Linked DNA regions of Homo sapiens: region 1 is linked to region 2. The links are contacts of gene promoters, found by promoter capture Hi-C in blood cells and fetal thymus (Javierre and others, 2016). All regions are on one chromosome and are shown on one strand. Each heading gives the region's core, a stretch centred on a gene start or on the middle of the fragment in contact. The rest is flanking DNA. Distances are from core to core; before and after follow the strand shown. Region 1 has its middle 100 kb from the start of MAP3K7. Region 2 holds the start of ANKRD6 (ankyrin repeat domain 6).

Region 1 (4,808 bases), core at 1,036-3,535, 1.0 Mb before region 2:
CTCCAAACGACCACCTTCTGGGGACTCTTTGGGGTCCATGTGCATTGCTTATTAAAAAGGGATTCCCTTCTGAGGTCAGAACAAACTGCTTGACATAAGAAACAGGTCCAAAACTCTGAATTCTGCCTGTGACAGTCCAGTTGCCTAGGCTCGAACAAGTCATTTATCCTCAGGGCCTTCTAGCCAGCAAATTCAGTAAATAACTCGGGTTTCCCCCGCTGCAGGGCCGGGAGAAGTGAAAGGCTTAATTGTGGCAAGAGCAGAGCGCTGTGTAAGTGCTGAGTGTCTTCATTGTGCAGCATCCTAGGAGCTTTCCTTCACAAAGCCTGCTCAGCAGGTCCCATAATAGCTGGAGAAAAAAATGTGAGGAGGGAGACTCTAACATATCAAGTATTTCCCTGGGAGTTTCTCATTTCAATGAGAAGAATATTCTCTAATTAAAATGCCACTACATTTTTTTTAAAACAAATTGCTGTCTAATTTCCCTTTGATCTTTTTTTTTTTCCATTTGGGTTGTAAGGTTTTACAGAAACTTTACAAACGTTTAGAGTCTGCAGTTATTTTCTTTTATTCTGATTAAACTTCAAAGGACGAAATGAAAAGCCATCATAGCAAGCTAAGCTTTTTTTCTGTGTATGCAATAAGCATTTATGGGGCATCTCCAGCGTGCCTGTCATTGTGCTGGGTGTAGGAGATACAAAGATGAATAAATACAACACAGACCTTGCCCTCACTGAGTTCAGTGTTTCCAGGAGGTGATCACACCATCAACAGAACACTGGAATGCAACGTGGTAACAGCAGAAACACCATCACACAGCCATCTTACATAGGGCACTGTGGCTGAGCTGTCTCTTTAAATGAAACTTAAAGGATGACTAAAATTCACCCAAAGGACAGCAAGGACATTCCAGGCAGAAGAGATAACATATAAGCACAGGTTCTGGGGTGGAAAACATCATGTCATGGCCTGTGTGTGTGTGTGTGTGTGTGTGTGTGTGTCTGTGTGTGTGATTCTGTCTCCGTAATGAGAAAGCGTCAGAGTGGGTATGGTTCCGGGAGACTTTACTGAATGGCATGGGCACAGGCCCGCTAACCTAAGCAGGCCGTAAAAGAATTCTCTGAGCTTCCTCTGAAGTAGGTCATAAGGCCCTCGTTCCATGGGTGAGGAAAAGATATGACCTTCCCTCCCCTACATTGTTATTGTGGGGTGTGACTTCTATACGTGAAGCAAGGCCAGCCACATCCTACATCATATATCGGTCTGAGGATTCAAAGGTTTACCTTAACAATCCGGAAAGAAATTTAAAAATGATTCCTGCATAAATAAATTAGACTTTGTGAGTGTTTTAAACACATACACCCCTACTAAAGGATTTGCAGATACCTTTGCTGACCCTGGAGGGAAGAATTACCTTGTCCACAGTTCTCCTGTGTAGTGACTTGAGGGGCACTTGCCTACTGGGGGCTAACCCAGGGCTCAGAAGGAATGACTGGAAATCTTGTTAAGATGAAGATTCTGATTCAGTGGGCCAAGATTTATCATTTCTAACAAGCTCCAAGGTGACGCCAGTGCTGCCGGTCTACAGACCACACTTGAACATTGAGATCTAATCCACTCGCTCCCCGCCCTGCCCCCCAGTCGTGATGGCACAGCAACTGAGATGAACCATAGGGATCCACTGCCCTCAACTCCGTGGCCAATGGTGCAGAGGCTGCTAGAAGACTGTCCAAATCCTCCCTGCACCCGAGGCACAGGGTCCCATCCAGCAGGAGTCCAGCCAGGCCCTCAGGGCTGGCAGAGAGCTGACTAGTATGTAACTAAGTCCACGGACCCAGAATTGGAGGGTGAAAGTGGGGAGGAAGGAGGTAGAAATTGTGGGATGGGGCTGGTGCTTGCCCAGATATCTCCTATGATAGGAGCTAAGAAAGATACTAAGGGACATAAAAAGGATGGAAGAGCTTGGGCAAGGGCCCAGGCAGAGCCTCTGAGTCATGGCATCAAGCAATGATTATGTGCCAGGGACTGTTTGCATGCATCACATAGATGTCACATTTCATCTCCACACAACATCCTTGCAAAACAGATTTTAAATCCCTGCTAACAGATGAGAAACTTGAAGTGCAGAGCAGTTCAGCAAATCACTCAATCTCAGCTGGCACACAGTGGAGCCCAGCTCACACCCAGGTCTGCACAATCTGAAAGCCCAGGTCTTTCAAGTACCCCCCACCCCCACTGTGCACTATCTTCATAAAGATGGATGAGACGGGACGTTATGCCCTAGGGGAGGGTCTTTAGATATCTGAATCTGAAAGCAAGTGATATCGGTGGTGACTGAAAGAGGTGCTAGGCCAAGAGAAAGCAGGTCAAGAGAAGGTGACATCTAAAGAAGACCTGAGTATCTGGAACTGGACCACCTTTGGACAAAGTGGCCTGGGCCTTCCTGGTCCTGAAGGGGATTTGCCTTCATGTGAGCCAGCCAGGGATTCATGGTGCCTCATAGTCTTGGCATGCACTGGTTGGTGGGCATCTTGGCAGAAATGGAATATTTACCTGAGATAAAAGAAGATAGATGTATTAGTTCATTATCACACTGCTATAAAGACATACCCAAGACTGGGTAATTTATAAAGGAAAAAGGTTTAATTGACTCATAGTTCCGCATGGCTGGGGAGGCCTCAGGAAACTTACAATCATAGTGGAAGGTGAGAGAGAAGCAAAGTCACATCTTACATGGTGGCAGGCAAGAGAGACAGCAAATGAGTGAAAGGGGAAGAGCCTCTTATGAAATCATCAGATCTCGTGAGAACTCACTCACTATCACCAGCGAGGCCCATGGGGAAACTGTCCCCATAATCCAATCACTCCCCACCAGGTTTCTCCCTAAACATGTGGTGATCCTATGGGGATTACAATTCAAGGTGAGATTTGGGTGGGGACACAGAGCCAAACCATATCAACAGAGAACTAAATGGGAAAGACCATCACATGACAAGGTGTCTAGAACATAGTAAGCAATCAACACTTGGTAGCTGCTATTTACTATTATTGTTGTTGTGGTGGTTGTTGTTGATGATGATGAGGCTCAAGACATGCTACCGCAATACATAGCACCTCAGCATTTAAGAAAACAGAAGCAGGAAGGTCTCTTTGACCTTTTCCTGCCATTCTCCCCTGAAGCAGGCCATGAAAGAATTCTCTGACCTTCCTCTGAAGTAGGTCCGAAGGCCCTCATTCCATGAGTGAGGAAAAGATATTACCTTCCCTTCCTCACATTGTTGTTGTGGGATGCTATTTCTGCACATGCTTAACAACCAGTCAGCAGTATGCTAGGAACATTCTCAGGCATAATTGTATATAAAATATTTCTGAAAATCCAAAGTCTGAGTAAGTCCAGCGAGGTGGCCAAACAAACCAGCCAAAGCCGCATAACTTATTATGAAGGCACATTCACCCCATGGTGTTTTACATCACTTTTATTTAGGTATCAGGATGATGTTAACAGGTGGTCAGTCACTGCTTATCCCTACTTGTCCCTCCTTACTGAGTTCTGATAGTTTAAAAATTGTGTTTCTAGATGGAGGGAGCCTCCCTGCCGAAAGAGTCTCCGCCTGGAATTGAAAGACCCACTCTGCTCCTCACTGATGTGCTCTCAGTCTCCTCATCTGTAAAATGGAGACAATCAAATCACACCTGTGCTGCCCACCTCAGGATCATTGCTGCGAGGACCGAGCAAGATGACGCGTGTGAAAGAGGGGCAAAACTGCCAAGTCCTCCACACATAGAAGTCATGCGGACTCTGCAGACGTCTCGCCATTCTATTCTAATTTGGGAGCTAATTCTTTATTAAAATTTTATTTTTATACCCTCCGTGTTTCCTCTAAATGCCTCAGATCCTCTGAGGAACCAGCTGGCATTTACTTCCATGTGTACCTCCATGAAAGCTTACATGGAACTTAAATGAAAAATTACATGCATATATCATTCATATGTAGATATACGTATGTATACACACACATAATTTTTACATACACATAAAATTTCTTCTCTGTACTAAATTTAAAGGACTACTCGTTAAAGCGGGTGAGACATTTGTACAATCAGTTTAAAAGATTTTTATTTAAAAACGGAAATTGCCCAAAGCAGACAACAGGAAATCATTCCTCACTGCAACTCAGATGGAGGAAGCCATCTAATTCTTGGGAATTTAGACACTCCTGTAGTAACGTAGCACAAAAATGGGCCTGGCTCAATCTGCTCTTCACATTTTGGTAATTTAAAAGGACATAACGGCATTTTATTTCAATGGTAATTGCAAACTCATGCAGAAAATGTAAATGCACATTTCATGATTAGCTTGCAGCATAAACTATGGCTTCTATTAATGTATTCCAATTTGTAATTCTTTTCACAGTATGAGATTTGAAAGCTGTGATTAAAATTAATTAGGTTAAGTAAAGTTTATCCCCCCTGAGCACTGCTATTGGGAACAAGCAAGAGGAAAACGCGAGCTACATCTGGCTCTGCAGGAAGCTGTGTCTTCACAAGAAGTCGGCTGACTTCTTTTCTCCCCACAGAGGTTGCATGCTGCTTATTTGGCATATCTCAACCACCATGTATCTCCTCAAGGAGCTAATTGAACCATTAAACTATTCTTTGCTGGCTCACAAAACCACATAGGCTGTGACTACATCATCTTCAAATAAGGACAGTAGGTGGATCCATCAATTGTTTAAATACAGTAAATCTTGGAGGGAAAAACACATACACCTAGTAAACCTGAGGTAGTGGTGGTTACCCCAAATCCA
Region 2 (4,450 bases), core at 1,867-4,366:
CAGGAAATGAGAGTGGCAGTGTCCAACACGATCCCAAGGTTTGAAAAGTAGTATAGGCACACACATACGGTTAGTAATTATGACTTTAAAGGATGTAAAATATTTTTTCTCTCAGTTTATGTATATTATTTTTTCAAACAACTTCTAAGTAAATACTCAGTTGTTTGAACCTAACTACTAACTACTGAAACCTAAGGGAATTGTGAAAAAATTACTAACTACTGAAGCCTAAGGGAATTGTGAAAAAATTAACTCAGACACTAAGGGCTCCATGAAACCAAGTTTCAGAATCTTTGCCTTAACCAAGAAGTAACAAAACAGTGTAAGATTCACCAAGGAAAGCCATGTGACCTTGAAGAAATAAAACAAAGACAATAACACAAACATATCAACCAGGAAGAGGAATTTGGGTTGTTAAAACCATTTTTAAAGGTCACTCTTAGCTTAATCCTTCAAATCCCACACAATGCCTTCTGGATAATTTGCATTTTTAAAAAAACTTCTAAAACGCACGCACCCAAATTACTGTTTTCCCACTTCTTAGGGACTCAAGCAAAGCTTTTAAAATCACAGCCATCAATCTATGTTGGAAGAGACTGGGTCTCCCCTACACAGACAGAACACACCTTCGGGATCCGTGCCAGGGAGACAGGAGAAACTTGGAAGAAGACAGAGACTAAAAGATCCCCCGACTTTGAGACTTTCGGCTTTTTTGTGGTTTGTATCTTACCCTCAATAGCCTGCTTTTAAGTTCAATAACAATGCTCCTTGAGAAAAAAAGAAAAATAAAGAATGCTCCAGGTTATTGTGGAAATGCTTGTTGGGAAACTTCCTTTCCTCAGGGTTTTTCATATAAGCAAGGGAAAAAGTTAACACAACATCCAGAATAGTGGTTCCTTGGGTGGGAGGCGAGAAGTGAGTGGAAGGCAATGGAGAGGGGTACTCAGGGGCTCCAGGGGCCTGGCGATGTTCTAGTTCTTCAGCCGGGTGACTCGTACTTGGGTGTGATCTATTGTTATTCTTTACATTGCACTCTAAGGTTTATACTGTCTGAGTGTATGATGTATTTCACAGTGGCAGCACCAGCATCTCTATACAAGAAGGAGGCCTTGGGAGTTGGAAGTGTGCCTTGTCTCTAAGCTGAGTTGGATCGCAGGCAGTCTGCTTTTACATGGAGCATATGCTTATCTGGAAAGGCTTTGGGGAGGCTGATGAGTTTAAGTGGGAGACTAAGATTAATTTTTGGTGCCACCATGAAAAAACAAGGAGTTAATAAATTCACATTTTTAAAAATTACCATTGGTTTATACCTCCCAACACTGCGACTAGTTGTTTTCTGGTCTCTTTAATTCCTCTTCATCCCTCTTCTACCCTTCCCCCATGTCCAGTATGACCTAGAGGGCAGAAAATACTCCCCAATTTTAATTTGTATCCCTAATTTTTAAAAAATTTTTTGTTACCATATGCTAAACAAATACTAAAGATGACAAAGTGTAACATGTATCGGTATAGACACACCTACTACACTCAAGAACAAGGCTGCAGACCAGTACAGTGGCTCACACCTGTAATCCCAACACTTTGGGAGGCTGAGACAGGAGGAGTTCGAGACCAGCTTAGGCAACACAGTGAGACTCTGTCTCTAGTAAAATAAAAAAATTCAAAATTAGCCAGGTGTGGTGGTCCCAGGCTGAGGTGGGAAGATCGGTTGAGCTAAGGAGGTCAAAGCTTACAGCCTGGGCAACAGAGCGAAACTCTGTCTCAAAACAACAACAACAAAAACCCCGCCAAGGCTGCTATTGGTGTTTTGGGGATGAGAAACCCCCAATCAGTATACCATGGATGGGACCACCTTGGACCCAGGTGTGTTTGTCTTCATTGCCCAAGTTCTTTCCACTTACACTGGCCTAACAGAACCTAAGCATGAATGAATTCAACATCCAACAGGTTCGCAAAAGGTGTCTAACACACAAGAGTACAATGCCAAGCATTTCATTCCCATCACTTCACTGCATGAACACAATACTACGAGGTTATGTACAATACCTGCAGTTTAGAGTTCTAAAAACTAAGGTTTAAAGAAGTGGGTTTTCCAAAGTCACACACCTAACAAGTGGTGGAGTCAGAACTCCATCTCACGGGCCCGAAGTGGCTCTTTACTACCACGTGACCCATCTCATGCTACCTCGCGGGGGAAACATTCTTGACCAGCTTTGAGACATTCAAGTCCCTCTTGGGTCACAAATAATGCTGCACTTCCCCTCCAGTCCCCGAGATCTACCGGAAGCAACACACTTAAAAGCCCAAGATAAGCTTGGGTGAGCTGATGTCTGGACCCAAACCAGACAGCACGCCGACTCTCTGGACCCCGGGAGATGCCACTTGCTGAGGCTTCGCCGATGGGGCTCCTGAGGGGTATCGGCCCCTCTCCTGCGACTGCACCCTAGTGCTGTCGTCCAGGGCGGGGAGGGACGGGGTCATTCGGAGGCGGCCGCAGGCCAGGGACCTACCCTCCTACGCGCCGCAGACCGCGGGGTACTCGGACCCCCGCCCCCACCGCCCTTCCTTCAAACTGCAAGCGAGCAGGAGAACGAGGGACGAGCCCCAGAAGAAAGTTCTCCACCTCCCTCGCCCGAAGTTCCATATTCCAGGGAGGCAACTGATGCCAGGCGAAGAGGGAGGCGCCCCGGGGGGACCCCCTCGCGCCGGGCGTTTTCGGAGGCCGCAGGCCAGGGGGCGAGGCGCGGTGTCCGGGTCTCCTCCGCGGGCAGTCGGCGATCCTGGGGTGCCGAGGGAGCAGCGCCCCCTTCCCCCGACAGCGTCCTCCCCGACCTGAGGCGCCCACCCCGGTGTAAGCGGGGGTCCCAGGGAGCCGGCGAGGTCGCCTGGTACCTTTCTCTCCCGCGCCGGACGTCCGCGCCGCAGGGACCAAGGCCGGCGACACGGTGGGGGGCGAGGGGCGAAGACGGGGACTGGCTCCCGCTGGCTCCGGCGGCCCCAGGGCCTCGGCGCCGCCCAGCGCCGTGCCTCCAGCCGCCCGCGCGCCAGGCAGCGCTCTCGGCTCCTGCGGGTTACCTGTGGCCGAGCCCGCCGCGTCCGCCGCCGCAGGGCCCTCTGCCCCGTCCCGCCGGCCCCGCCCCACCCCTGCCGGCGGCTCCTACGCCGGTGCCGCAGCGCCTCCCAGCGGCGAGCCGGGGCACGGCAGGGACCCTCGCGAGAGAGAGGTGGCACCGCGGAGGCCCTGGGGCTGGCCCCGATCTGCAGCCCTCTCCTGGGTGGGGCCACCGCCTTCTGAAGAGTGGGAGGAAGGGGGCCTATAGTAGGGTGAGGTTTTCCGCGTGGGGGTTGCCAGGAAGTGTATTGGGAGGGGAGGAGAATTAGCAGGAGGAACCTCCCACCTTCACTCAATTCGTGGCCAAGTGGATATTTCAATATAACCATAGCTCACTTAACTGGGGCTGCTCAGTACAAACTGAACAACAATGATGAATGACCCAGATTTATTGGGGTAGCTGGAGAGGGGAAAGGAAGCCTTTATTTCTAACAGCTTGACTATAAGTATCTTGTTGGAATCATCCCATATGGAAATGGCAAAAGCATTGAGCGAGCCTGACCCCCATATTCATATCACACTTTACATACCATTATCTCAGTCTGGTTTTGTCTATTTTCATTCACAGCCACTTCTTCAATACCTAGAAGAGCTCCCTGAACACAGGAAGCATTCAATAAGCTACTGTTGAATACATGTAAGATGGATGGGATCTCATTCCACCCTTTGAAGAAGCATGGACAGGTATCTGCTCTCCAAAGGCGGAGAGATGGAAGAGGAGGCAAGCAGCACCCTAAAATGGACTATCAATCTTACCTGAGGTTTTGGGACAAGCTTATCACGAATCTGATTTTTTTTTCTTTCTTGCTTAAAATTTTTTTTTGAGACGAAGTCTCACTCTGTCACCCAGGCTGGAGTGCAATGGCACCATCTAGGCTCACTGCAACCTCCGCCTCCCAGGTTCAAGTGATTCTCCTGCCTCAGCCTCCTGAGTAGCTGGGATTACAGGTGCCCGCCACCATCCCTGGCTAATTTTTGTATTTTTAGTAGAGATGGGGTTTCACCATATTGGTCAGGCTGGTCTCGAACTCCTGACCTCGTGATCCTCCAGCCTCGGCCTCCCAAAGTGCTGGGATTACAGGCATGAGCCACTGCACCCAGCCGACTTTTCTTATTCCCTCTGAAACAGGCCTGGTTTCCAGGAGAAAAGAAACATGATGATTTCTTCCTTTTCCTTAAGATGTTTGTTTCCCTCTCTCCTTCAGGGATCATTAGGCAGGAGAGATCCCAAGAGCCTGTTTCCACACTAGGAAGGGGAAGTTCTTGATTTTCTCCTACTGCTTCTGAAATTTTCCCAACCCCATAGTCACAGCTGCAGTTTTACCTAACAGGATGTGA

The links. Contacts are between HindIII fragments. The CHiCAGO score rates a contact against its expected background, and 5 or more counts as called.
Region 1: a contact is called between a fragment that was not itself captured here and the fragment with the promoter of ANKRD6 in region 2, in 4 of 17 cell types (fetal thymus, total B cells, total CD4 T cells and 1 more). The highest score is 6.8, in fetal thymus.

What each region holds. Positions count from the first base shown.
Region 1 is chr6:90,480,531-90,485,338 of GRCh38, reverse strand. No RefSeq gene overlaps it. Among named protein-coding and RNA genes, the nearest start is that of MAP3K7, 100 kb to the left of the region's middle. The HindIII fragment of the contact is 3,323 bases long and covers 624-3,946 here.
Region 2 is chr6:89,431,818-89,436,267 of GRCh38, reverse strand. ANKRD6 (ankyrin repeat domain 6) reads right to left here and starts at 3,116. Exons shown (of 16, transcript NM_001242809.2): 1 at 2,893-3,116. LOC124901360 (a long non-coding RNA gene) reads left to right here. Exons shown (of 2, transcript XR_007059675.1): 1 at 1-2,851; 2 at 3,681-4,450. RefSeq lists a silencer at 2,845-3,324. The HindIII fragment of the contact is 1,573 bases long and covers 2,316-3,888 here.